7 separate regions of the Homo sapiens genome follow, and all the other regions are linked to region 2. The links are contacts of gene promoters, found by promoter capture Hi-C in blood cells and fetal thymus (Javierre and others, 2016). All regions are on one chromosome and are shown on one strand. The core of a region is centred on a gene start or on the middle of the fragment in contact, and the rest is flanking DNA. Distances in the headings are between cores, read along the strand shown. Region 1 overlaps LOC105375457 (a long non-coding RNA gene). Region 2 holds the start of THAP5 (THAP domain containing 5). Region 3 overlaps IFRD1 (interferon related developmental regulator 1). Region 4 holds the start of TMEM168 (transmembrane protein 168). Region 5 overlaps TMEM168 (transmembrane protein 168). Region 6 has its middle 18 kb from the start of LSMEM1. Region 7 holds the start of LSMEM1 (leucine rich single-pass membrane protein 1).

Region 1 (3,528 bases), core at 702-3,201, 3.9 Mb before region 2:
TCAACAAACATTCCTCAGGTGTCCACTATATACTAAGCATGTTCTAGAGCATGAGACAAAGGGATGCCTGAAAATAGAGTATTTGGCCTCATAAAGTTCCTAGTCTAGCACGAGAGCTCAGCATTATTTGTAAATCAGATTCTCTCTCCTTGGAATTCAGAATTAGAACTGAGAGACACTCAAAGATTCTGGACTGTCTTCTGAGCAGAGAATAAAAAGTAGCTATCATCTGCCCACCACAGACATGAAAAAACAAGAAAGACAGTTTGCAGAGAGGAGAGAATGAAACAGGACTGTAGAGAGAAGCAGAGACAAGAAATGGATCTTCCCATCTCGTCATGAGCTTCCACTTCCAGGTAGGCAGAACTACCAGAGACTCAATTGAATTCCTGCCTTAGGCTTCCAGGGAACATCCTGAACTTTTTTTTTTTTTCTGAGATGGTGTCTTGCCTCTCACCCAGACTGGAGTGTAGTGGTGCGATCACAGCTCACTGAGGTCAGGTAACCCTCCCACCACAGCCTCCAAAGCCGCTGGGACTACAGGTGTGCACCACCATGCTCGGCTAATTTTTGTTTTTGTTTTTGTTTTTGTTTTTTTTAAGACAGGATCTCACTCTATTGCCCAGGCTGGAGTGCAGTGGCGTGGTGTTGGCTCACTGCAACCTCCGTCTCCCAGGTTCAAGCAGTTCTTCTGCCTCAGCCTCCCAAGTAGCTGGGATTACAGGCGCACACCACGAACGCCCAGCTAATTTTTGTGTTTTTCGTAAAGACAGGGTTTCACCATGTTGGCCAGGACGGTCTCAAATCTCTTGACCTCATGATCCACCCTCCTCAGCCTCCCACCAAAGTGTTGGGATTACAGGTGTGAGCCACCCTGCCTAGCCTAATTTTTGTATTTTTTGTAGAGACGGGGTTTTGCCATGTTTCCAAGGCTGGTCTGGAACTCCTGGACTCACACAGTCCGCCCACCTTGGCGTCCCAAAGTACTGGGATTACAGGGGTGAGCCATTGCACCCAGCCTGAACTTTTAAAATAAATTGTTTCTTATGCTCAAGTTAGGTCCAGTCAGTTTTTATTTCTTGCAAACTAGGATAGTTTACAGTTTCTCCTTAGCACTCCTCTGTTTTTTTGATTAGTGTCTCTTGGAGTTCCAGAAAACTGTCCAGGCATTTGCAAGTGGGACTTTAAAAGCCTATCTTTTACACTCAGATGAAAGGCAGTAGGAAGTAGGAACAGATTCTCTAACACTTTGGAGGCATGTTAGCACCTTTCTAAATTATGGAGAATGAGTGAACTGCCAAATTTCATTCATCATTACTGATATTTATTGTGAACCAATCCAGCCAAAAGAATTCTGAACAGACACTTTAAAAACCTATGCCAAACTGAATTGACCGTACCAGGCTTATCACATTTAAATATTTATTTAAAATAGTCTTTAAATTATAATTATGTTAATTGTTTTATTAAAATCAAGAGAGAAAACTAACCATTTATCAAACTGCTGAGACTGCTAAAAGATTTATCAGCCTTATATAAATAAGACACACTTAGTAAATATTTTCATTCCATTCAAGAAAGGCTTTTGTGACCGAGTGCCGTGGCTCACACCTGTAATCCCAGCATTTTGGGAGGCCAAGGCAGACAGATCACTTGAGGTCAGGAGTTCGAGACTAGCCTAGCCAACATTGGGAAACCCCATCTCTACTAAAAATACAAAATTAGCTTGGCATGGTGGCGAACGCCTGTAGTCCCAGCTACTCTGGAGGCTGAGGCAGGAGAATTTCTTGAACCCAGGAGGCAGAGGTTGCAGTGAGCCGAGATTGCACCACTGCACTCCAGCCTAGGTGACAGAGCAAGACTGCATCTCAAAAAAAAAAAAATGGCTTTTGAAATTAATTTGTTGCAGACATCATTGATTTCCTGCCGCAGATCCATCTTACTCTCTTGCTTATTCTCAGAACCCCAATTTTGTTCAGATATCCAACCTCCTTCGAGGGGCCATGTGCTTCAGGGGAAGGCTGGACCCCAGCTCCAGGGGTTGGGTCATAATCGATTCCTCTTTTAATTGATTCCTCTTATAATTGATTCCTCTTATAAATGGTTTATTCTTGGGCACAGAACACAGCTCTAGCCAGTGAGGTGTAAGAGTTGAGGGCTTGAGGGAAAGATTTCTCCTTCCCAAGAGAAATACAAATGAACAGATGGTCTTGTCTTTTTCTGGATGTTGTCATTTGTGAGCATAAAGGCAAACAAAGCTAACTACCAAGAATAGCAAAAGAGAAGGGTTAAAGAACATAGATGAGGTTTTTGAGTCACTGAATTAACCAACAGGCACCACCTACCATCCCCTACCCCTAGACCACTTATGTGATTATAATAAATGCTTTTAATATTTTAAAAAAATTAAACTTGAGATTTCTGTGGCTTGGGGCTGAAAGCATCTCAACTGATACTGTTACATCTAACAATCTCTTTAAAATGATGATACCATTTGGCAATTTCTAACAGTCTTATATGCATTCAGAAATAAGTAAAAATAATCCCCGAACTATCCCCCTACTTCCCTTAAAAGTCCCATATGTTCCAAGAAAGAAAATGTCTTTGAAATCCTCACTCTTGTCACCTGCTGTTTTGTACATACAATGTACGAACATAGGGCCCTGCCCACTTCATTCCGCCTCCACAGAATTCTGTCCAAGGACACCCTGTTAAAACTGTATTTGGAGAATTTCCTTCCTTCTATGCCCACTATTATTGTGTATGACTGCTTTTTGGGCTTTTTTCACTCTCTTGTTCTTTACCCATCTTTGGCTTCCAGATTAAGAGTTTTCATTTCCCTTAATGGTCCTTAATAGGGTTGTTTGTTACTGTTCTTGTTGTTGTTGTTGTTGTTATTAATTGGCATCAGAACTTTTTTTAACCGAAACATCTTTCAACGGGAGGAATCCATTTTTCTGTCAACGGTATCCCAGGTGGCTAACTTTCATTATGCTCAGGTCAATGATTCATGAATGGTAGTTTTCCTTCTAAACAAGTGTTGCCATGATGGGTGAGTAATGGTACCTTTGCTATATTCCAAAAACTGAGGGAATAAAACAGACTCCACCCACATGATAATAGGGTTAATTTGACTCTACATATATAGATTGAAGGTTGTTTATTTGTTGGCTTGATTTCCACAGCCTCGTCTTTTTTGGCGAAGGAGGTATCTTCTAGTCTCAAGTTATTTCTATTCACGCATCCATTCAAACAAATTTGCCTTTGTCTCCAGGTTCTGTTTCTTATGATAAATTTTTGGAAACCCTAGGCTGATCAAGGAACTCTCAAAATAGGAAGTGAACCAACAACATTTATACTTATAGCTCTTTATGTGCTTAAGGCAACATTCAGGAATATTCTTTCCCTACCCTTGTTCTCTCAAACTCTGCCTCTTTACCTTGATCTACCTCTCTCCTCACCCCCTGTATTTTTCTCCTCAAAGGTATGCACAATGCTTCAGTGCCATTTTCATAGCCCTATAAGCTA
Region 2 (3,526 bases), core at 41-2,540:
AGGCAGATTCTTACTTTCACAAACTCAGTAGTTAAAATATTTCTTTTACCTTTAAACCATTAAAGAAATGTTAACTTAGAATTCTTGACAATATGTATTCAATGACTTGAGATTCAAAACGAAGGGATGGATCCTGTTTTTTGAATACGGGACCACCAGAGTCCTTAGTAACCTATAATGCCATAATAAGGCTGACGAAAAACACTACGGTTTGTGGAAATTGCCTGGCTTCCTCTCCAGCGGCCTTTCCTGAGAGTAATTAGCAGGCAGGTAGATTACTTATTTCCAGAGAGTTACTCGTAGTCACGGGTACCAAGAATCAAGAACCACTTCTCGGTTTAAGGAACACAACAGTGTGTCCCATGGACGCTGCGTCAACTGCAGGTTGCTCCCTAGTCAAAGGGCGGATCTAAAACTGACAGGGAGGCGCCTCACTGGTTCAGCAGACGTTATTCCACGGTCTCAAGGTGGACATCTAATGATTTTTTTTTAGCAGACTAGTTTTGTATTGTACAGACTTCTCATCCCCAAGACGGCCCCGCCAGCCAGCAGCCCGTGCCTTATTCCCCAGCCTCGGTGGGCGGCTGGGCTAGACCCTCCAACCTTCACCTAAAGGCGACTGGCACTTTCCCTGCCCGCCCAGGCCCCGCCGCAGAAGCTGCCCGAGACCCGGGCTCTAATCCGGCGCCCGTGAAAGCCGGCGCCACAACCCAAAACACGATTCTGTGATGCGGCTGTCTCCGTTCTTCCATTCTCTCGGCCAAAAACATGCAGCCCATTGTCCCTGCGGCGACCGTGGCGGACACCGAGGCCAAGTCAGCTCACAAAGACAGGCCTGGGCTACGGGGACCCTCCGAACTCCCCTCCCCACGACCCCGGCCTCGTCCCTCACCTGCACCCTCCGACTACTGCTGCTCCTCCACAGAGCTGAGGCGCTGGCGACCCTGACGATCGGCTCGGGTCGGCAGCTTGGGCCCGGCCCCTCACCGCGGCCTCCCGGAGCTGGCACGCACCCTAATCTCGGTCGTACACCGACCTAGCGCTCCTCCTTCCCCGCCGGCGCCCAGTCCCCTCTCAGCCAGCTCCTCACAGGCAGGAGGTAGCCGCTGGCGCCACCACCTCAGAAGACCTACACGAAACGCTTCCCCATTGGCTTCTGCCTCCCCACGTGATCCCGGCGCCCTACGCGCACGTGGAAAACTGTTGTTGCTGCTAGGGCTGTGCGCCACTTCCGGCTTCAACCCCCGAAAAGGCGGTGCTTAAACCGGAGGAGGCGGAAGTGAGTCGACAGACGAGGCGGCTTTCCCGGCAGAATGCTAGCGCAGGCGCAGGGGCTCGAGAGGCCTGGACCTGTGGCGCATCCTCAGTGAGGAGGGCCGCCCTGCATCCGTCGCCGGCCCCGGTCTCCAGGGGCCTCACCCGAGTCATGCCCCGCTATTGCGCAGCGATTTGTTGTAAGAACCGCCGGGGACGAAACAATAAAGACCGGAAGCTGAGTTTTTATCCGTAAGTTGTTTCTGGAGCAGAAGCGTCAGCCTCGCCGTGAGGCCTTGGACCTGTGGCCTTTGGGCTTGGGTGTCTCCTGTCCGCTCTGCCAGTGAGTCCTCAGCTCTCCGTACGTGGCCCGTCGCCCGCGGCAAGACGGAGGGAAGGCGCTAGTTCAGTTTAGCTAGCAATGCCCTTCTTGCGCGAGGACTGCTGGCTGGTGGCGAGGCCCAGGAGCCTGTTTGGGTGTTAACAGTTAAAACAGTAAAGTTTGCGCGGGCTTCTGTGGTTTTCAGTCTTTTCCCCACTTCACGTGATCTCATTTCATTGAACAACATTAACCACCATTTAAGATACGTGAAACCTGCGAAGTGGAAAGGTGCACGCAAAGTTAATTTACACCCCCCGCGAGGTAGGTCGCATAGGTATAATTTCATCCCACTTTTCTCCTGAGGAAACTGAGGCCCGGAATGATTAGGTAACCGACCTTGAAAGTTTAGTGTCAGAGCCAGAATTATAAACTAGTCTTCTGCTTAGGGCTGTAGATACTCTGCGGAGAACAAGGTTTTATTCTGTTACTCTGAATTACTAGAGCCACGATATATTTCCATCAAACTACTGAAGCACTGATTTTTATTCAGAAGTACAGACAAGCAGTGTCGTATAATAATTAGGGGTCCAGGCTTCAATGCTAGATCCTGGTTCCACTATTCTGTAGCTTAATGACCTCTTGGAAAGTATTTAAGCTTTGGTGTCTCACATATCTCATCTGTAACATGGAGATGTTAATAGTACTCACATGATTAATAACACATGAAAAGCAACATATTTAAAATACTGCATTTCCATTTTTTCTTGTATTTAAAAACAATTCATTTAGATCTAACCTGGTTCAGATTTTCAGCAGTTGTTTTGTGCTCATTTTACTTTAGACCTGAAGGACTTATTCATTAATGATTCGGCTGCTTTCCAGTATTTTAATTAATGGAAAAAAAATTGATAACCCCACCAGGCGCGGTGGCTCACGCCTGTAATCCCAGCACTTTGGGAGGCTGAGGCGGGCAGATCACCTGAGGTCGGCAGTCTGAGACCAGCCTGACCAACATGGAGAAACCCCGTCTGTACTAAAAATACAAAATTAGCTGCGCGTGGCGGCGCATGCCTGTGATCTCAGCTGCTCGGGAGGCTGAGGCAGGTGAATCGCTTGAACCTGGGAGGTGGAGGTTGAGGTGAGCCGAGATCACACCATTGCACCACAGCCTGAGCAACAAGAGCGAAACTCCGTCTCAAAAGAAAAAAAAACTGATAACCCCAAGTAATTCACAATCCATGGCAATATTTCCAGGATTGTCTCCCTTGAAGCCCAGCCTCAAGATGCAAAGAGATGTTTGGGGGAGGAAAACAATCTAATCCACTTTCAGTTTATAGGGAAATACTACTGTACTAATGGCTCTATCTCTGAGAATGTTTGTAGCAAAAGATCATGTTGAACTTGATTTAACCCCGTATTTCCCAGATTTATTTGGCCTTTGATATTGGAGATGGGGTATAACCCCACACTGAAATTTTTAACTAAACTTTGTGGACCTTACAGTAACTTTTTAGGAAGGAAAAAATAATGCAAGTGAATTGTAAAGATTTTTTTCACTGAAAATGTGAATTTAGTAAAAGTTGTATTATTTCTAGGGTTTTTAAAAAATTTTCTTGTGTAATCCACAAAATAAAAATTGAATTAGTTTTATTCTCCAGTAGCGTCAAACTTGAATTGAATTTGCTCATGTTAACACTACAGCAAACTGTAGTTTAAATGTATATGAATTTGGGAATTCAGTTAATATAGTGTCCAGTTTGTACTGTGATTATCTTATGCCTTTTGGGGAATTACATAAGACAATGAAACAAAATTATCAAATGAATTGAACCAATATAAAGACATAATTTATTCAGGAAACATGATCAAGATTTCTTAGAGATTTACCTATTGAAGCAATACAATCCAGTAAACAATAAGGATATTCACAAAGTTTTTTTTAATGAGTTG
Region 3 (3,738 bases), core at 1,239-3,738, 3.9 Mb before region 2:
ATCTATACAACCTCAGGCAGCACTACATTAGCAATCTGTCTCAGGCTCCTCTTATATAACAGTTATTACCACCCACATCTCCTAGGTTTTTTATAGGGAAATGAACTATTAGAAATATATAAAACACAGGACATAAACATCCATTAAGTTATAGATCTTACTGTTATGAACAGCCTGTTTGAACCTAACACAATATAAATACAACAGAATCTAACACAATATAAATACAACAAACTGGTCAGCTGAAGATAATTATTTCATAGCAAAATAACAGTTACCAATTAAATGGTTTCAAAAGTTGAATGGAATTAGGATGAAATGAAACCAAAGAAAATTTCCAGAAAAGTTTAGGCAGACAGGGTGAGATGCTTAAGGTCACAAAAGCTAACCATTCCCCAAGCTATTATTTCTATACAGAAGTCACTGGAACACTCATTATAAACAAAATAAGCTGGGTCTTGGATAGCTAAGTATTAAGAAATAAAAATCATACAAAAGCCTAATATTAAAATAAAACTTGAGGCCAGACACAGTGGCTCTGTATCTATAATCCCAACACTTTGGAAGGAGGAGGGAGGATTGCTTGAGGCCAGAACTCTGAGGCTGCAGTGAGGTATGATCTTGCCACTGCACTCCAGCCTGGGCAACAGAGTGAGACCCTGTCTTTAAAAAGACTTATTTATTTCAATTCCTGCTAATCAAGGCAGAATATCTTTGTCAAGGTATGGAGATATTTTTACACAGAGTCAGTTATTATACAAACAAGGGCAAAAAAACAAGAAGAATGCTAAGTTGCTGCTTCTGAAGTATAAAATCTAGGTGATTTCAGATTTGGCTCCAAGGAGTATATTTGGTCTTTGATTATCTTTTTTCTCGCTGTGCTGTAGCACTTCCCCTGTCCGCTCAGCTGGGGAATGGAATGGGTGAGACCTGGAAAAGGTCTAACTATATTTTGTTAAATTTTCCCAAGTGAGGATTGCACCAGCAATGGCTCCCAAGATCTTAATTCTGCCCACCAAATAATGTCTCTTATATTAAGTTACTCTACAGTTCCTAAAAGGCCACTAGTAGACTACTGCCAAATGCAATACTCAATTCAACCAACATTCCAAGTAACAGCTAACACTTACACTGTACCTATCATGTGTTCTCAAAAACTCTATGAGGTTGTGACTAATAATTTATCCATTTTAATGATAAGGACACCGAGGCATAGAGAAGTTGCCCAATATTATCCAACTAGTAAGAGAGAAAGAGATCCGAAGGTAGGCAGAACAGCTCCAGAGTCTACTATTATCTAATTGGTTATATGGCAAACATCCATTAACCTAGAACTCTCATAAAGGAGTAATAATTACTAATTTCAACTTTGAACACAGTTTATTATTATTATTTAACCAACTCATTCATTAAAATCCAACCTAAAAGTTAGCTCTTCAAAAGTTTTTTTTCTAAGTCTCTCAGGCAGAATTCATGACATCACTAGATTTCAAAGTTAGTAACATCAGAAAGTCAGTTAGCAAAAAGCCTTGAATAATTCAAAACTCATTTGCTGTATGAACCCTATTTTAAATCTGTCTATGTATTTCACTAACGCCCTGGATTTAATTTTTGAACACCCTATAACTATCCCCCAACCAGCACCCACATATAAAAAGCTTATTTTAAAAAAAAAAAAAAAAAGCAAATAAAAACACTAGGTTCTGTTTTGTAACCCAGTTCATTTTTGTCCTTGGATAAAAATTCAAGTCAAATGAAATATGTCTGGATGAGTTCTCCTGGTTATCCTGTGTAATTTATTAAGTTGGAGAAAAGATACGTGGGGTGTGTGTGTGTGTGTGTGTGTGTGTGTGTGTGTGTGTGTGTATATAAATGTGTATATATATGTATATGTATATACATGTATGTATGTGTCTATATATATGTTTATACAAACTTAAACAAATTCAACATGTATAATTTAAACTGCATTATGACTTCATTTTAAAAATGCATTTCCAAGGAAAAAAAAGAAAAGAAACTGCCATTTCTGGCCAGTAGAGGAATGTAAGATTAAAAATTGGGACATCTGGTTTCCATGCGTTGAGGTTAAGAAGCTATTAACTAGCTCAATAAAATTAAATTGATTGCTAAATTTGAGTCCAATTTCTCACATAAGGAGAATTATTAGCTACTGACAACATTAACTTACTTTCCATTCCTACCTACTATCCCTCAAACAAAAGGAGTGTAGGGGAGTTGGAGAGAGCCACTTTACACATAAAAATTTTAAGACTGTAAACTTCCTTCAATACAGGCCTAGAATGGAATATGAATGACTATACATGGCAGAACTGTATTAATCCTGTTTGGAACCGTTCACTGTTAAATAACTTCTTTAAATGCAAAAAAGTTTCAGAATGAAAATATATTCTTTCTCCTTAAATTAAAAAGCATCTAGTAAGTAATTCAAGGTTGGCAATAATATCTACTATTTAGTTACCCATTTCCCATATATTTGAGTTTTCTTATTGGATCCTTCACAGATTCAGTGTGAAGACAGTCAAACCTGCTCCTCATTTCTAAATATCAGCACAGTATCTGAATCACATATCTTAAGAATACATTCTCCCTTCCAATGGTAAGATTTGAGGCATTCCTTTCTCTTAGCAATCCTTAAAATAGAGATGACAAATTAGGGTTACCAAATGACCCAGTTTGCCCGAGATAAAGGATTTCCTGGAACATAAGATGGTAAGTGCTAAACCAAAAACAGGTACAAAGCAAATTGGGTCGACTGATCAAACTATCACAAACTCAAATCCCTTCGAGAGCCAAGCCATGGTAACTAACATCTGTGAGTGGACAAGTGAATGGGTAACTGCAAAGCACATGTCCCAGTCTTAATGAGCAGTGTTTATTTCCATCTTTGGCTTAGAGAAGTTACTGAACCCATCTCATCCCAAACCTATGCTGACTTAATATTTTATTCATTTGTTTGATATTAATTATGAAGCATCACATGCCTTCATTAGCTTGATGTATTGGGTATCTGAGAAATTCAAGCAGTTTCATAAAGATTATATTAGACAAAACTCTCTCCATGAGGATCCCTAAACTTCAGTTCTATAGATAGCAAAAATTAAGTATAATGAACCACAGTCAAACACTGCTGTACCAACCCCTACTGGTTTCTGCTCTCTAAAGTATTACACCACCACTGCCAAGAAGTAGGGAAATAAATCACTGGGTTCTCAAGCTGGCCATGTTCCAAAGTTATTGCCCAATTCTCAATTGCAAGGTAATGATGGAACAATGGGCCTTGTGACACAAGCTTTTTCCTCTGCCAGTTAGATACTTACACTCTCTATTCCTCTGGCCAATTCAAAGAGAAGTGCCAAAGATTCACCAGCAGCTATTCTCATGTTTACATCATCACAAGAGAGGAGGCTTGGAAGCTTATGGAAATGCCTAAAAAATAGTTAGTCATTACTATGTGAATACAACCAATTATGTCCACTAAATGTTGCTTTTATAAAATATGAAACTAAAAATACATACATCTCAAGCTTTTTCTTCACTTCATTGATTGGGCATATGGTCAGCAGTAGTGTCCATGCAAGAAGAGAGCTGATATGAAGCACTGTATTAGGAGTGCTGCAAATAACAGTAGTGTCTTTCTCTTTGAGATAGGATTTAGTGAAGATATTTTCCAAACATTCCAGAGTTGAGTATAGTTCCTAATGCATAAGAATATGA
Region 4 (3,472 bases), core at 750-3,249, 4.2 Mb before region 2:
ATGAAAAACCACTGATTTAGTGAGCTGGTCTTAGTGCTAAGCAACTGAATGCAGCTGTAGCTAATTTAAGCAGAAAGTAAGTTTACTAGAGGACGCTAAGTAGTTCAAAGGATAGCTGGAGATTGAGGCTTGCACCTACATGGCCAGAATCTACCTTGGCTGTTACCGGTGGAAGGTGTCCAGGTTCTTGGCATCTTGAACAAGGAATTAGACAAAACGCACAAACAAAGCAAGGAAGGAATGAAGCAACAAAAGCAGAGATTTATTGAAAATGAAAGTACACTCCACAGGGTGTGAAGAGCCGGAACATGGGGCTCAAGAGCGGGGCGGCCGGGTTATAGAATTTTCTGGGGTATAAACACCCTCTAGAGGTTTCCCATTGGCCACTTGGTGTACACCCCACGCAAATATAGTGGCCCACAATCAGTCTGATAGCGGAAAGCAACCAATCAGAGCCTGAAGCGAAGTTACAAAGGTTACACCCTATGCAAACATTTAATTAGTTATGGAAAGCAACCAATCCGAGGTACTTTCAATTTTCCGTCTGCCACGCAGAAAAGGGCGGTGGTGGGGGAGGGGGCCGGGTCCCTTTGTTACTTAGCTGTGGAAAGTTGGGGCTTTCCTTTTGATTTAGTTCTAGAAAGTCAGCATGAATCAGCCGTAAGTTCCTTGCCTCCAGACCCTATTGTCCTGCCTCACAGCTATGTAGTACAGAGTCTGTCACAGGCTACCCAGAAATGTACACAGAGACTGTTAACAGGCTACAGAACAGATTGGGAAAGGGCTCTGGGGTTGTGACCCTCACCAAGCACAGGCATCTTGCATCTCTGACATGTTAATGGTGGATGCCAGCACTCTCACTACTGCCTCGGAAGCTTACCTTGCTGTTAGGGATGGGTTCTCGATCTCTACACTTGCTATACTCCTACAGGTGACCTGGGAGTGTAGCTTTCTGTGCCTTTTTTGACTCATGGCTTCCAGCGGGTACACATGATTAGTTAAACAAGTGTTCAGCATTTCAGCGGCAGCCATTAGACTCTTAACTCAGGTGGGGAATTCTCCAAATACGGAAGGGGATTCAAATGGGGGGCATAATAAATGTATATAAATGTCCATTAAAGGCAAGTTGAGTTGGAAGTGATGACAATATATTTGAGTAGAAACATCTAGCAGGTAGTTGGAAATGTGGCACTCGTGTTCCCCAGAGAGCTAGTTACAGATTTGGGAAGTTGAGTTGTGATTGCTTTTAAAATCAGGAGTCTAGAGAGAATCTAACTCAAAATTTTCATCCACATATGCAGAATCTCAATCTGAGAGTTGTTCATTCCTATAGATGTGCTGGCCACACCAACCCCCAACATCTATTATGAAAATTAGGAAATTCACACTCTATTATGGAAAATAGGAAAAATATATAGATAATACATGCAAAACAAGTGGGAGGAGAGAACTACGGATCGTGGAGAGCCTATTGCATATTATTATTTTACAAATATTTAAGTGCCAACTATGTGTCAGGCACTATGCTAAGGTGATTTAATGTTGAGCAAAACCCGACATGTCCCTGCATTTGAGGAACTGAAAGGTCTGAGGGAGGGCCTAAGGAGCTTGGGCCTTAGCTGGTTACAAAGCCATATATTATGCCATATATATTAATGAGCAGCAACGCCTCCCGCAGTATTTACAGCCCACGCGTGGCAGTCCTGTCCACCCTGTCCCCGTTCGGTCCAGCCCGAGGCGGTGGCCTAGATGCTTGATGGGCACTGTCAGCCTGATCTTTGGTGGTCTTCCCGCTGTCTGTTCTCAGCTGCTGATTCCAGGTCCCAGGAGTCGACTTTGGCTTGAGGAAGGCAGGCGCCTTAGGTGGGGCAGTTGACACTCGCGCAGCGCCTTGCTCACCTGAGTGTGTGGCGGCGCGCGGGTTTGGGCGGGGAGGGGGCCGGGCCTCGGGAAGGAGGCGCGCCGCGCAGTTTGACCCCGGCGGCGTTCCGTACCGTCGCGGATTTCGGCGGCGGAAACATGGCGGTCGCGGCCGGGCCGGTAACGGAGAAAGTTTACGCCGACACTGGCCTGTATTAGCGCGTATGGCCTCGGGCCCTCGTTCCCCAAGGCGTGCCGCCTCCCTGTTCTCAGTCGCAGGCTGAAGCCTTGTCTGCTCTCCTCCTTTTTGGTTTGGTTTTGGAACTGACTCCGAGGGTTGGGAGAGCGCGTTGGTGGCGACGGCCGAGTCAGGTAGGGAGAAATGGGTGGACGGCAGGGCGGCGAGATCTAGGCATAGACACTGCCAGGGCTCCGCGTGGTCCGGACCCCAAGCTCCGCCCAGTCGGCCTCCCAGGGCCGGGGTAGGATACCTGCCTCTGGAGGAGTTGACAGTGGTGGTTGGAGATTGGAGGGTGTGGGAGCGCCTCTCCGTATTTCGCAAGGGTTCCCCCTCAACTGGGCGCCACGTTGTGGTCGCGTTCTCCGAGGCAGAGGATGGTGGAGAACAGCCAAGCTCCTTGTCGGACCTCCCACATCTCGCTAGAAGGAGGCCGAAAGGGAGAGAAATTGCTGTTGCTGCTCTAGTGCTGAGGAGTTTGATATTCTAGATGACATTTTCCTCGTATGAGATGGCTCAAAGAGTTATCAGTAATTCAGAACTGAAGCACTGAAATTCCCTGTTTTTTCAGTGTAGTTCTTTCAGCCTTGACACTTCTAGATGGGACAGAGTTTCTGAGTGAAAGATAATGCAAGTGATACGGTATGCCTCAAGCCATTCCCTAGAGGTAGGACATGGAGAGAGAATTGGTTTGGAAGAATTTGGGTGAATTAAGTAAAGACTGGTGGAAAGCTGAAATAGAAACCAAACATTCATGGACTCTCCCTTAGTTCTACTAGTTATTAGTTGTGGGATATAGCTAAGTTCTGTATTCTCTTTAGGCATTAGTAAGTGTCCAATGGTGACTATTGTTGTTAAATGTAGTTATTTCTTTATTAGTCTTTATTTTTCAACAAGTATTTATTGAATACCTTCTTGATGCCGGATTTTTGCTAGTCACTGGGTGTACAGTATTGAAGACAAACCCTCAGAGACCTTTTGATCTAGTGGGAAATGCAGACATGAAATAAGTGATGGTATGTAACAGAGAAAGTATGGGGGTCATGTAATGGGGAGGGGGCAGGGATAATCTCTTAAGAAAATGATTTATCTGAGACCTGAAGAGTTGGAATAAGCCAGGTGTGAGCACTGGGGTGGGGCCAGGAGGAGGAAAAGGAGTGTACCTGGCAAGGGAATAGCATTTGTGCAGTTTGTAATTGAAAGGTCAGTAAGGTTGGAAAATAAAGTGTGAGAGGAAAACTGGTAACAGATAAGGCAGGAGAGTTATTCAGGCCCAACACGGAGTGCCTTATAAGGCACTGTAAGGAGTTTTGACTTTATTGCTAAGGGTGATGGGACGCCATTGGAGCATTTTACATAGTGGAGTGCTAAATT
Region 5 (3,544 bases), core at 493-2,992, 4.2 Mb before region 2:
TTGTACTAGAGTACCATTTTATATTTGTTCTAGGAGTAAATCTAAGTCTTCAACTAGTGTCCAGTGGTATAAAGCAATGGACCTAAATTTTAATAACTTTTTAAATGCCTATTAATAGATAATTTCTTCTATTATTTATGTACCTTAAGTTAATAAAATTTGAACACAATTTTATTGACTATTTTTCAATACAGAAGTAAATATATAATTAAAATATTGCTTTTTTATTTTGTGTTATAATATTTTTAAAGAAGTTTTTTTAATAGTCCCCACCCAGATGTTCTTGAAACAGTGTAATCCTGCTTTTAAAAAACCTTGTCCAATATTTGTCATGTAAGAAAATACGAATAAGGAACAAAGAGTAATACTATCTACATTTGGAGACATTATCCCAGCTTTTAATTTGATTATTGTTTTAATGATAGTAAATATAATATTTAGAAACCAGGTTTTGATTTTCTAAGCTTAATTCTCAGTACTATAGGAATTTTAGAAAGGGTGATTTTTTACAAAAATCCTGCCACTTAGCAGCAACTATATTATAACTGATTCTTAGATAATCAGTTACAAATGACAGATGAGAATGTGATATAGAATGAGTACTTCTTGTTTTTTCTCCTACTTCAGTCCTGATGGTCAGCCAACACTGCTTCCCCCAGAACATGTACAGGAGTTAAATTTGAGGTCTACTGGCATGCTCAATGCTATCCAAAGATTTTTTGCATATCATATGATTGAGACCTATGGATGTGACTATTCCACAAGTGGACTGTCATTTGATACTCTGCATTCCAAACTAAAAGCTTTCCTCGAACTTCGGACAGTGGATGGACCCAGACATGATACGTATATTTTGTATTACAGTGGGCACACCCATGGTACAGGAGAGTGGGCTCTAGCAGGTAAACTCACCTTTGGCAGTTTCACTATTGTAAAGATACACATGTATATGTAGAAATCTGTACTTCACACACAGTCGTTAAATTTCCAGGATTCTTAGTTTACTGAACTATGCATATGACTCTAATTTGTTTTTCTTTGCTCTAGCATACCTGTTTAGCCTAATTTAATCTCTAATGATAAGATTGGGAATTACGTCTTATAGTGATTAGAAGGAAAAAAATGCTTTGAGACTTACAGTTTCCCTTAAAATATTTTCAGAATTGCTAAACATATTTTTCAGAAGCTGATAAACTCCTTTGACTAGTATCTTTAAGTTTTTAAATGTTATGGATGCAGATTTCAGTAGTCCTTCACATCTGTAGTTTTATTTATGTTATAAAGCTCACCAAAATTTTAAACAGCAGATCATGTAGTATGGTGGGAGTAGCACTTAGGTCAGGAGACCTTGGTTCTGGTCCTAATTTGCCACAGCTGTGTTATTTTAGGCAAGTTAGTTAACTTCTGTTGGCTTCAATTTTCTCATCTGTAAAATAAGGGGGTAATTGTAAATGACCATTGAGTTTTATTCTAAGGTACAAAATTCTGTAGGGATTTTTTTGCATTTGAAAAAACATAAAATAACTTTGGTTTGCATGCATTATGGGAAATAGAAAACTTCTTAGTTATTGCCAAGAGAGAAATGAGATCTCTTTATATCATATATAAATTTGTCAGTCTTTCCAACTATTAATAGAGAGAAAGTCAAGGGCTTTGTTTTATCAACTGTTACTTGTTTAGGACCTATAACAGAGCCCAATACATAGTAGAGGATCCTTAAGTAGCTGATAGATAGATGAAATCATTGAATAAATCATTAAAAAAGGTAATTTTCTTATTTTAGATTAGAAATAGTTATTTTAGATTTAATTACATGATTTTTTTTTCCATAAAAGTGTAGATGTTTTAAACCAAGAATATATAAATAATAAAATAGTCATAAATAAAGTGGAAACATTCAGGATAAAGAAAAAGATAAATAGAAGTAGTATGGAAGGACAGAGGCAGAGTTGCCAATATAAGAACTCCAGAAAGAGACAAACAAAAAGGTTAAGGTAGAGATGATTTTAAACTAGCATGATCTCATTGATTTCATGCCAGATTTGTAACTGAGGTTTTTATCATAAGGAGAAATATTTTTTTGAAATTTTTCTTTTTTGCAAATAAATATTGAATAACTCAGTGGCCTTCTAGTAGAAAGACAAGCTAATATTTATTGGGTACATTTTAAGCATCAGCTTACTGTACTTAGTACCTTACACACATTGTTAATCTTTATGTGAAATCCTTTGAGATAGATACCATCACTTCTGTTATCTTCATTTTTCAAACGATGAAATGGAAATTGAAAGTTGTTATGTAACTTATCTGTGGTCATACCACTATGTGATAGAACCATGATTTAAGACCAGATCTGCCTGATTCCTAAAGTGTATTTTTCCCCCCACTCTACCATGTTGCCTCCAAGGGTGAAAGCCATGATGATAAAGGAATGGCATGTTCTGGTTAAGTGGATATTTTTGTTAACATGGGTCACCCATTTCAAAACATTAGAATGTACAAGACTAAAAGATGCACTGAACATTAAAACTAATTGAATATAGTTTATAAAATCATTTACTTGACCTATAACTTTTTAATTACAACGTAGAAAGCATCTTTTTAACCTTTATGGCTACTTCAGTTTCAGGTAAAGTATAACGTTCTGTGTATTCCAACTCAGAGCACAAGAGAAAGCTTTTAGTCAATTAAAATAGCCTTTACAGAAATAGAATTTTAGATCTAAAAGCAGAGATTGCTGAAACTTACTATAATCCTTATGATAATAAACTCTACCCAGATCAAATGGAAAAAACAGGGCTAATTTTTGGTGGCCATGCATATATCCCTAGTTATTTTAAAGTGTTAGAGTAATTTTAGAAGTAAGCTTTTTATGTGTGTTTATATGAAGGATTTATTACTTAATAGAAACACTTTTCAAAAAGTTTGCATTTTTCTTAAGTAATTTAAAATTCATTAAGTATTTCTTAAAGATAGCTATGGAAATCAATTCTAGATGTTCATTTACTAATACTTATATCAGCTTTTTATTTTTCTAAGAAAAGTAAAAACACTAAGATAAACACACACACACATATATATATCTCTCGCAGTTTTTCTAAATTTTCATTCACTGTTAGGAATAATTTTTGAAGACTTTAAGAACACTAAAATAGAGTTGTATTTTAGGTAAATGTTTAGCAGTTACATTCTAGAATGATGTCTTTATAATTTTTTTGAAGTATGCTACCAGTAAATTGACCGTTACAGAATTCCTCTGTTAGCTAAGATTTGTTCTTGTGTAACTTTGAGGCTTATTATAAGAAGTTTAAAAAAAAGAGAGAGAAAGCATACTGATCTCCCTTCCCTGAGAAAGGTAGATTTTATCTTATAATTCAGCAACTGCATACTGTCATGCATGGCCTGAGGCATCTCGCATACTTGTGGGTAGTCAGGTTGAACCAGGCCCAGAAAAGCCCGCTTTTCAGTTAGTTCATGCCCTGGCCTGCTTTAGACGTAGTCCTCAAGGGCTGATTCTGCCTCACAAATAGTATTGAATATCTCT
Region 6 (3,810 bases), core at 931-3,430, 3.9 Mb before region 2:
TTTGAATTGGCAGAGCTTGTACATGATAAAAGAAAATCCAACAAGTATAAAAGGATATAAAATACAAACTAAGTCTCTAAAAATGTTCTTTTAATGCCCAGTTTTTTCCCGAAAATTAAAAATCCTTGAACTTATTTTAGGCCTACTTCAAGAATACATTAGGAGTAAATTTCTGTGTTTGTGCCAAGAAAGAAAATCTATTTGATCAATGTGTGGTGTTATTACAGTCACTTTCTATCTTAATTTTACTCTTCTTAAGTTACTTTTCCTCCTCGCAACATTTCGAGACATGACCATGGCAAAATCCTACCACCTAGTGGAAAAACTCTCTGCTCTTTATTCTAAATCCACTTTAGAATTTAGAATACATTAGCTGTTAGCCATTAACTACATATGTAGATCACTTTTAAAACTTACTTTTAAGAGAATGAGCTGTTCAAACATCTTTAATCAATGAAAAAAATGTAAATTTCAGTACCAAAAACTTCAGCAATGTTACCATTTCCAGATAAACAGTATATTTGAACTGAAGATCATTGTTAGGACTTTTTCCATTTTTATGTTCATTTAGTGTTGAGAACATTAAGATCTAGACACAAATGGGTGACATCAGGCACAGTTTTAATTGTCCTTTCATATTAAGCATGATAAATTCATATCCATACCTATCTATGGCAGTCATTCAAACTCAGAAATGATGTCTTTTCTCTTCCAACAGGTCTGTGAAGCAACTCCCATTCTTTTAGTAGATTTTGAGTTTGCTTTTTTTTTTTTTTACAAGGAATAAACAACAATTCTGTTTCTTTATAGATATAGATTTTCCAATGCTTTGTTTAGTTTGATTACCCAATCCCAGGCAATAGTCTTGAAGGCACAAAACCTGCTTTAGAAATTACAGACTGAGGCAATAGAGAAGAGAAGGGAAAGAGAGGGAAGTCAGAAAGCCAAAAATTATAATAAAATACAGAAATAAACAGCTATGAGGAAGAATTTAATATCATATGCTATAGATCCATGATGTGTTTTTAATTTCTAATCACTCAGATGAACTATGGAAAACCACCATATTCATCCATAAAATATCCTTGACTGCCAAAAGCAGAATCCTGGGCTAAATATCTGACCCAATATGGGTGGACTTTCTTTTCTTAGGTCAAAAATTAAGACCAAAGAATAAGTTGGTATGGAGCCAAAGAAAATAAATAGTCAAAAATCAATCAAGATTCAACTAAAGGTGAGTGCTAAAATAATTGGAAGTAAAACTACACCTAGGAAGCTGATACAAAATGGATGTAGGAAAAGCTTGAAAAAGGAAATGCCAAGTATACTGGGTCAGAAGCCAACCATGAGAAAAGAGTGGGTCTAATTTAGAGCATAACAGTTGCTGGGGGGTTAGCGAACCATCCAGTTATAAGCTGGGTCTCCTAAGATCAAGGCAGCCTAAGCTCTGCCTTCACATCCATGGCTCCTAGATCACCACACTCCATTTTAAACACTTTATTTGCTGAGGAAAAAATGAAAATTGGAAGGCATCCAGAGAAAACTAAAATGACCGTAGAAGGACAGTTTAAAAAAAATGTAAATGAATTAAAGATGGAAAATCTGTTTAAAGGACAACAAATGCAAAGAAGAAAGAATGTAGGAATGAAAGAATGTAGTGCACATTCAAATTTCTAACAAAAAGGATGAGAGCAGGCAGACAAAAAAACTAAACCCGGAGTGGTGGCACAGCCCAGTGGCGCAATGGCTCACACCTGTAATCCCAGCACTTTAGGACGCTGAGGCGGGAGGATCACTTGAGCCCCGGAGTTTGAGACCAGCCTGGGCAACAAAGCAAGACCCCATTCCTACAAAAAAACTTTTAAAAAATTATTCAGGAATGGTGTCACACACCTGTAGTCTCAGCTACTTGGGAGGTTGAGGCAGAAGGATTACTTGAGCCCAGGAGGTCAAGGTTTCAGTGAGCTATGATAGCACCATTTCACTCCAGCCTGGGTGACAGGTCAAGACCCCGTCTCAAAAAAAAACAACAACAAAAAAAGAATTAAACCTGGAGAAACCATAATGCAAAGACGTTCAGGGTCTTGGGCAAAACAAACCAAAAGACCAAGACGGTGTAAATCACAGGGAACATAGCAGAGCTTTATGAAGAAGAGAGGACTTACTGGCTGGGTATTTCTTTTTCTAAACTTCGTAAGTCAGGAATTGAGCTGAACACTGCAGAAAATGTCAGGAACACACAGACTTTCTTGTCTGTCAAATCTCTAAACTAGAGCAGTTTCTTCGGTTGTCAGCCTGTGCAGTTGCAGAGGACACTGTGCTTGGTTTAATATTCTGCTATTGCCATCTTGAAATTATTAAGAATTTATAAACACGGGGCCTGCACTGCATTTTCATTTTGCACTGGGCTCCACAAATCACATAGCTGATCCTGCACTAAATTCAGACTGTAAAGAATTCCACCACAGGCCAGGCGCAGTGGCTCATGCCTGTAATCCCAGCACTTTGGGAGGCCAAGACAGGCAGATCACTTGACGTTAGGAGTTCAAGACCAGCCTGGCCAACATGGTGAAACCCTGTCTCTACTAAAAATACAAAAAAATTAGCCAGGCGTGGTGGCAGGTGCCTATAATCCCAGCTACTGGGGAGGCTGAGGCAGGAGAATAGCTTAAACCCAGTAGACAGAGGTTCCAGTGAGCCGAGATCGCACCACTGCGATCTCCATCTCAAAAAAAAAAAAAAAAAAAAAAAAAAGAATTGCACCACTACCAGCAAAATGTCTCTTTTGTCCTACATCTGAAAACAAAACAAAACAAACAAAAACCAGACAAATTTGAGTAGAGAGTAAAGCAAGAACAAGGACAATCTATTCACCTCCTTTTCCTGCAAGACCCCCTTTCTGTCTCACCTGCTGACTGAGCTCCCCCTCATCATCCTTCCCCAGGACAGCAGCTGCAAAGTCAAGGAGAGTGGACCTTGACTGGACGAGCTGCATCATCAGAGTCCACTAAGCAATGGATTCCTCCACAAAGGTCACTATAAGTTAAGAAAAGCTTTCCCTGGTCAACTGACATCTCTAATCTTTCCAGGTTAAATCATTCTTCTTCATGAAGAATCCACAATCCACCTTTGAGGAGTAAACAGATGCATTTGCAAATAAGAGAAAGCCTAGGAAAATTAGAGGTTTCTTATCCCCAAGCAATTTTAATAAGGAGGAAACTGTAGGAAATACATATGTATATAAATACATTCCTAAAAGCTACTGTTTCTTTACTCATTTATTCAAAAAGCCTTCTGTCTGCCAGACACTGCTAGGCACTAAGGTTTCAAGGATGAAAAAGAGAGACATGGTCTCTACCCTCGTGGTGGTTACAGCCCAGTGGAATGCTGACTGTGAACCAGGAGTTATGCTAAGTGTTTCACAAACACGTGATCTCCTTTCAACCACTATAGGGTCAATGTTATCACCCTCATTTTCAGAGAGGAAGGAACTGAGAAAGAGGTTAAGTTTCCTTCCCAGGCCACACAGCTTTTAAGAATCAGAACTGAGATTCTAATCCAGTTCACCTGACTCCAAAGTCCATCTGGTGCCTGAAAATATTAGGGTAGGACTCCTTGAGGAAGCAAAACCAAAAACATTTTAGAGGGTCTGTTTGAGAAGACTGGATACATGCAGGAGGGATGTTGAAATGAAGGGATTAGAAAGAATATCCCAAAGAGAAGGGACTCTCTGAACAAAGACATCGTGGAAATAGCATGCTATAAAGAACCTACAAAGCAGGATTTGGGAACTATTAAAGATTTTTTACT
Region 7 (3,637 bases), core at 1,031-3,530, 3.9 Mb before region 2:
AATATGGTGCCTGTGTGTATTTGACAACACACTGTTTACTTTCTGTTGTTGCAAAAATTTCCTTTAAAACTCATCTACAGAATGAAGAGCAATATAGAGTTGGGAGAAACCAAATTCATAAAAAAAAAAAAAAAGTATACACCTAAAGAAGATGTGGGGAAAAAAAGTATCAGACACTTACTGAGCAATTTAAACTTAGTCTAAAATATTAAAAAAACAATTTCCCAGTAATACCTAAAACTACTGGTACTTGTGAAAAATGTGCTACCAGAACCCTAGCTAAGAAAGTGAGCTCAAAAAGTCATGGACTAAAAATTTTTTTTAGGGTTAAAACTAAAAAAGTGTGTTTCACTTATCTTGAAATTTTAATTAACAAGAACAAACAATTCCCTGAGTTTTCAGATAAGATACTACCATAGCACTTTATTGACATTACTGAATTCCAAATATACTTCATAGAGCATTCCTAAGGAAATGACTTGATATGACAATTAAAAAAAATTAAAAAGCAGCAGCAAATAGAGTAAAAGGGCCTTAGAGGTCAGTCAAATCTTATCCTTTTGCAGTTAAAACCAAGGCCCCAAAATATTCACTCATGCATAGTCACAGATTTTAAAACAATTCTTTTAGATGTGTTTCATATTTTATCATCCATTTATACTAATATTTGACCAAACAGTAATATGTGACCAGGAAAAAAAGTTTTATGTGTCACATCACAGGACCACTGTTCTGCACACAGCTTCTATTTTAGGTGTGGTAACTGAAGCATGGTTCATTTTTGGATCTCTGACTTAATAGCCTTGAGCCTTAGCTTCCCCTTCAGGAATGTATCTGCTGTTGCTTCAATTTCATACTGAGGCTTAATCAATGTTTACAAAATAGAGACCTAGCTAGAAAATCATGGCCACAAAAACTGACTTTAAGAGTACAGCTAATAAAATCTCCATATTACTGGTCTTGCTATCTACTCAAAAGGTGACTCCAAAAAAAACTAAGACAACAACCTAGTGAGCCATGACGTGCTTTGAAAGAAAATGTCTTCTTTAGAGTGAAGTCACAATGTAAATATATGCTATTCCAATATTTTTTTAATGAGCTGCAACACGCAAATGGAAAAATAAAGAACTAGCAGAGAAAACTGAGTTGGGTGCTGTTCCAGGGCTCCAAGAGCCTGCAAATGACTTGCAAATGACTCATGAGGCTGCTAGTAAAGGGATACAAGATCACATGGCCTTAAAACCAGGCCCCACGGCTGTTTGACACCCAGTAGTTGCTATCTTTGGCATCTCCAAATGAGGGCATCTAGGAACAACCAGCAAGGCTGGAGAAGCCAGTGTTACTAGCAATTCTTCATCACACTAACTTGACCCTCCTTTCAACTCCAGTGTGCAAATTTGCTTATTCACCAAGATTGGCTAAAGCAGCATCCCTTTAACAGAACCCTTTCTTATACCTTGACTGGAAACATGTAAGTAATTTCATTTTCCTCTGGTTTAGATCACTGCTAACAGTTGATTTTTTGTCATTTAAGAATTCTTTGACTATTTACAAATAAATATTCCAACAAATAAAGATAATTGTCTATGAAAAATTGCCTGGTGCTTTATTTTTTAACCAGGCAGGTGCTTGGTATCAAACCACAGAAATAACTCACACCAGTATTGCTTGCCACAAAATCAGAATTGTTATAATAGGGCATAATTCAAAGCTAATAAGCAGTGTTATTGAATGAGTCATGGTAATTTGTTCTTTAATTTCATTTCCCAGTCAATGCCTCTTCACATTCAGGAAGTAATTTTTAAAATCAAGTCTAAATCATTTCTATCAAAAATGAAAAACACAGAGCACATGCAACAAAAACTTCCCAGACTCGAGAATCATAATTCAGTCTCAGTAGAGTAATAGCATGCAAATTACTTACAAAAATGTGAGCTTTGACTGCTAGGTTACCAGAAAAACAAAACAAAACAAAACAAACAAACAAAAACTAATTGTTCAGAAGCAACTACAACAAAACTTTTCTACAAATTCTGTAGTTCTCTCTTTGCCTTTCTTCAGCATACGGGTGCTCCTATGAGACCCATAAGCCCCAGGATGAAACTGTTGGTCTATATTGTGTCAATTTAGCCAAGCAGTGTAAGATTCCAAATCCTGACTTTTTTCATAATGTCTAAGGTTTTTAGTAAATATATTACTAAAACTATGCTTTAAAAAGAAAACAACAAAAAAACACCATGCCCTGATTTAGTTGGTAACTGATGAGGTTTTTATTGGACTGAAGTTACCGTCCTTATCTGGCTGAAGCAACTGTTAGCTGACACCACCTTTCCAGCACTCCTGCCATGGTATGCTTCCATATATAAATATCCTGTAGCAGGCGGAAGCTGCCACTATGATGACTGACTTGCAAACACTCCAGACAAACCAGAGAACTGCAATAAACACGGACAGAATATGATTATGACATCATAACAAGGATGATGGCAGGTCAGACGCCTAGTGCTTCCAGTAGCTACAAAAAGCGATTGTGAGTGGGCGATTTCATGGATACAGACCCACCACAGGTGAAGGAAGCACTCCATCTCATCGGCCGCCTTTCCTTTACAAAGGCTTTGTTCTGTGAGTGTCTGCACATCCTCCTTTCTCAGGAATAACAGCCTTCCATATATGTGGTTCCCTCACATACATGCCAAGGAGCTTCTGCCCTCTGCTGTACATAAAAGATGCTACAGTGATGAGGAGACCAACTATCTCAGCAGGATACTAACAGTGAGGTTGTGAACAACTGTGCAATCCTTTATCATCCTCACTTCCATTGCCATAGCTTGATGGACATTATTCATCTTTGAAACATTTTTCATGTCAGTGAGAAAATAGGTGTTCCACAAAATTTTCTTTGAGACAGAGTCTTGCTGTGTTGCCCAGGCTGGAGCGCAGTGGCATGATCCCAGCCTACTGAGACCTTCCTGCTTCCAGATTCTCCTGCCTCAGCCTCCCAAGTAGCTGGGATTACAGGTATGTGCCACCATAGCTGGCTAATTTCTTTATTTTTAGTAGAGATGGGGTTTCACCATGTTGGTCAGGCTAGTCTTGAACTCCTGACCTCAAGTGATCCACCCACCTCGGCCTCCCAAAGTGCTGGGATTACAAACTTGAGCCACCATGCCCGGCCCAAAATTTTCTTTACACCTATATCCCATACGGACCTCACTCTGCTTTGGGGGAAGAGGAATGTCATTTTTTTTTTCCCTTCACACTACCTAGTCTAAGAGGGAATGTCATTTTTTCAAGCCTCATCTGTACCCAAAGACTAATTCTTGGAGGAAGACAATATAACTAGTAACTTTTCTCAGAAACATACGTTAAAAAGCTATGTCAAATTTCTCTGAATAATGAAAATGTTCATGTTAGCTATTATGCTGTTTTTAAGAAATCTCCCAACTACCTGATCTGCCTTGAGCCATGTATCCTTTGAAGATATAATAGAAGTAACTGCCTCATTTTGGGGCGTTTACTACTTTTCCTCTCCTGTAACTTCTAACTTTGTGGAATATTAACTTCCCCTGAAGGAGGAAGGAAATGGAGACTAAGGAATTTAATTGTTGAGGGATACACTGATTATAAGTGGCAGAGA

Evidence for each region. The method cuts DNA at HindIII sites, captures the fragments that hold promoters and counts their contacts. A CHiCAGO score of 5 or more calls a contact.
Region 1: a fragment that was not itself captured here is called in contact with the fragment with the promoter of THAP5 in region 2 in 9 of 17 cell types (fetal thymus, total CD4 T cells, non-activated CD4 T cells and 6 more); the score reaches 26.5 in fetal thymus.
Region 3: a contact is called between a fragment that was not itself captured here and the fragment with the promoter of THAP5 in region 2, in 11 of 17 cell types (total CD4 T cells, M2 macrophages, naive CD4 T cells and 8 more). The highest score is 25.2, in total CD4 T cells.
Region 4: the fragment with the promoter of TMEM168 here is called in contact with the fragment with the promoter of THAP5 in region 2 in 9 of 17 cell types (naive CD8 T cells, total CD4 T cells, non-activated CD4 T cells and 6 more); the score reaches 34.9 in naive CD8 T cells.
Region 5: a contact is called between a fragment that was not itself captured here and the fragment with the promoter of THAP5 in region 2, in 3 of 17 cell types (total CD4 T cells, activated CD4 T cells and fetal thymus). The highest score is 9.7, in total CD4 T cells.
Region 6: a contact is called between a fragment that was not itself captured here and the fragment with the promoter of THAP5 in region 2, in 3 of 17 cell types (M2 macrophages, M0 macrophages and activated CD4 T cells). The highest score is 17.9, in M2 macrophages.
Region 7: a contact is called between the fragment with the promoter of LSMEM1 here and the fragment with the promoter of THAP5 in region 2, in 8 of 17 cell types (total CD4 T cells, activated CD4 T cells, M2 macrophages and 5 more). The highest score is 17.8, in total CD4 T cells.

What each region holds. Positions count from the first base shown.
Region 1 is chr7:112,438,346-112,441,873 of GRCh38, reverse strand. LOC105375457 (a long non-coding RNA gene) reads left to right here. Exons shown (of 3, transcript XR_001745325.2): 2 at 161-356. It also overlaps a transcript of IFRD1 not described here. Among named protein-coding and RNA genes, the nearest start is that of IFRD1, 10 kb to the left of the region's middle. The HindIII fragment of the contact is 9,318 bases long and covers 1-3,528 here.
Region 2 is chr7:108,567,470-108,570,995 of GRCh38, reverse strand. THAP5 (THAP domain containing 5) reads left to right here and starts at 1,290. Exons shown (of 3, transcript NM_001130475.3): 1 at 1,290-1,506. The coding sequence starts at 1,427. DNAJB9 (DnaJ heat shock protein family (Hsp40) member B9) reads right to left here and starts at 1,122. Exons shown (of 3, transcript NM_012328.3): 1 at 893-1,122. RefSeq lists enhancers at 967-1,694, 1,228-1,707. The HindIII fragment of the contact is 6,219 bases long and covers 1-2,233 here.
Region 3 is chr7:112,461,982-112,465,719 of GRCh38, reverse strand. IFRD1 (interferon related developmental regulator 1) reads right to left here. Exons shown (of 12, transcript NM_001550.4): 7 at 3,541-3,719; 8 at 3,342-3,450. Among named protein-coding and RNA genes, the nearest start is that of IFRD1, 13 kb to the right of the region's middle. The HindIII fragment of the contact is 1,655 bases long and covers 1,661-3,315 here.
Region 4 is chr7:112,788,920-112,792,391 of GRCh38, reverse strand. TMEM168 (transmembrane protein 168) reads left to right here and starts at 1,999. Exons shown (of 5, transcript NM_022484.6): 1 at 1,999-2,232. RefSeq lists an enhancer at 1,611-1,740. The HindIII fragment of the contact is 5,754 bases long and covers 878-3,472 here.
Region 5 is chr7:112,770,139-112,773,682 of GRCh38, reverse strand. It overlaps TMEM168 (transmembrane protein 168), which reads left to right. Exons shown (of 5, transcript NM_022484.6): 4 at 628-902. Among named protein-coding and RNA genes, the nearest start is that of TMEM168, 18 kb to the left of the region's middle. The HindIII fragment of the contact is 1,873 bases long and covers 806-2,678 here.
Region 6 is chr7:112,497,309-112,501,118 of GRCh38, reverse strand. No RefSeq gene overlaps it. Among named protein-coding and RNA genes, the nearest start is that of LSMEM1, 18 kb to the right of the region's middle. The HindIII fragment of the contact is 1,751 bases long and covers 1,305-3,055 here.
Region 7 is chr7:112,479,634-112,483,270 of GRCh38, reverse strand. It overlaps LSMEM1 (leucine rich single-pass membrane protein 1), which reads right to left and starts at 2,280. Exons shown (of 4, transcript NM_182597.3): 1 at 1,925-2,280. The HindIII fragment of the contact is 7,612 bases long and covers 1-3,637 here.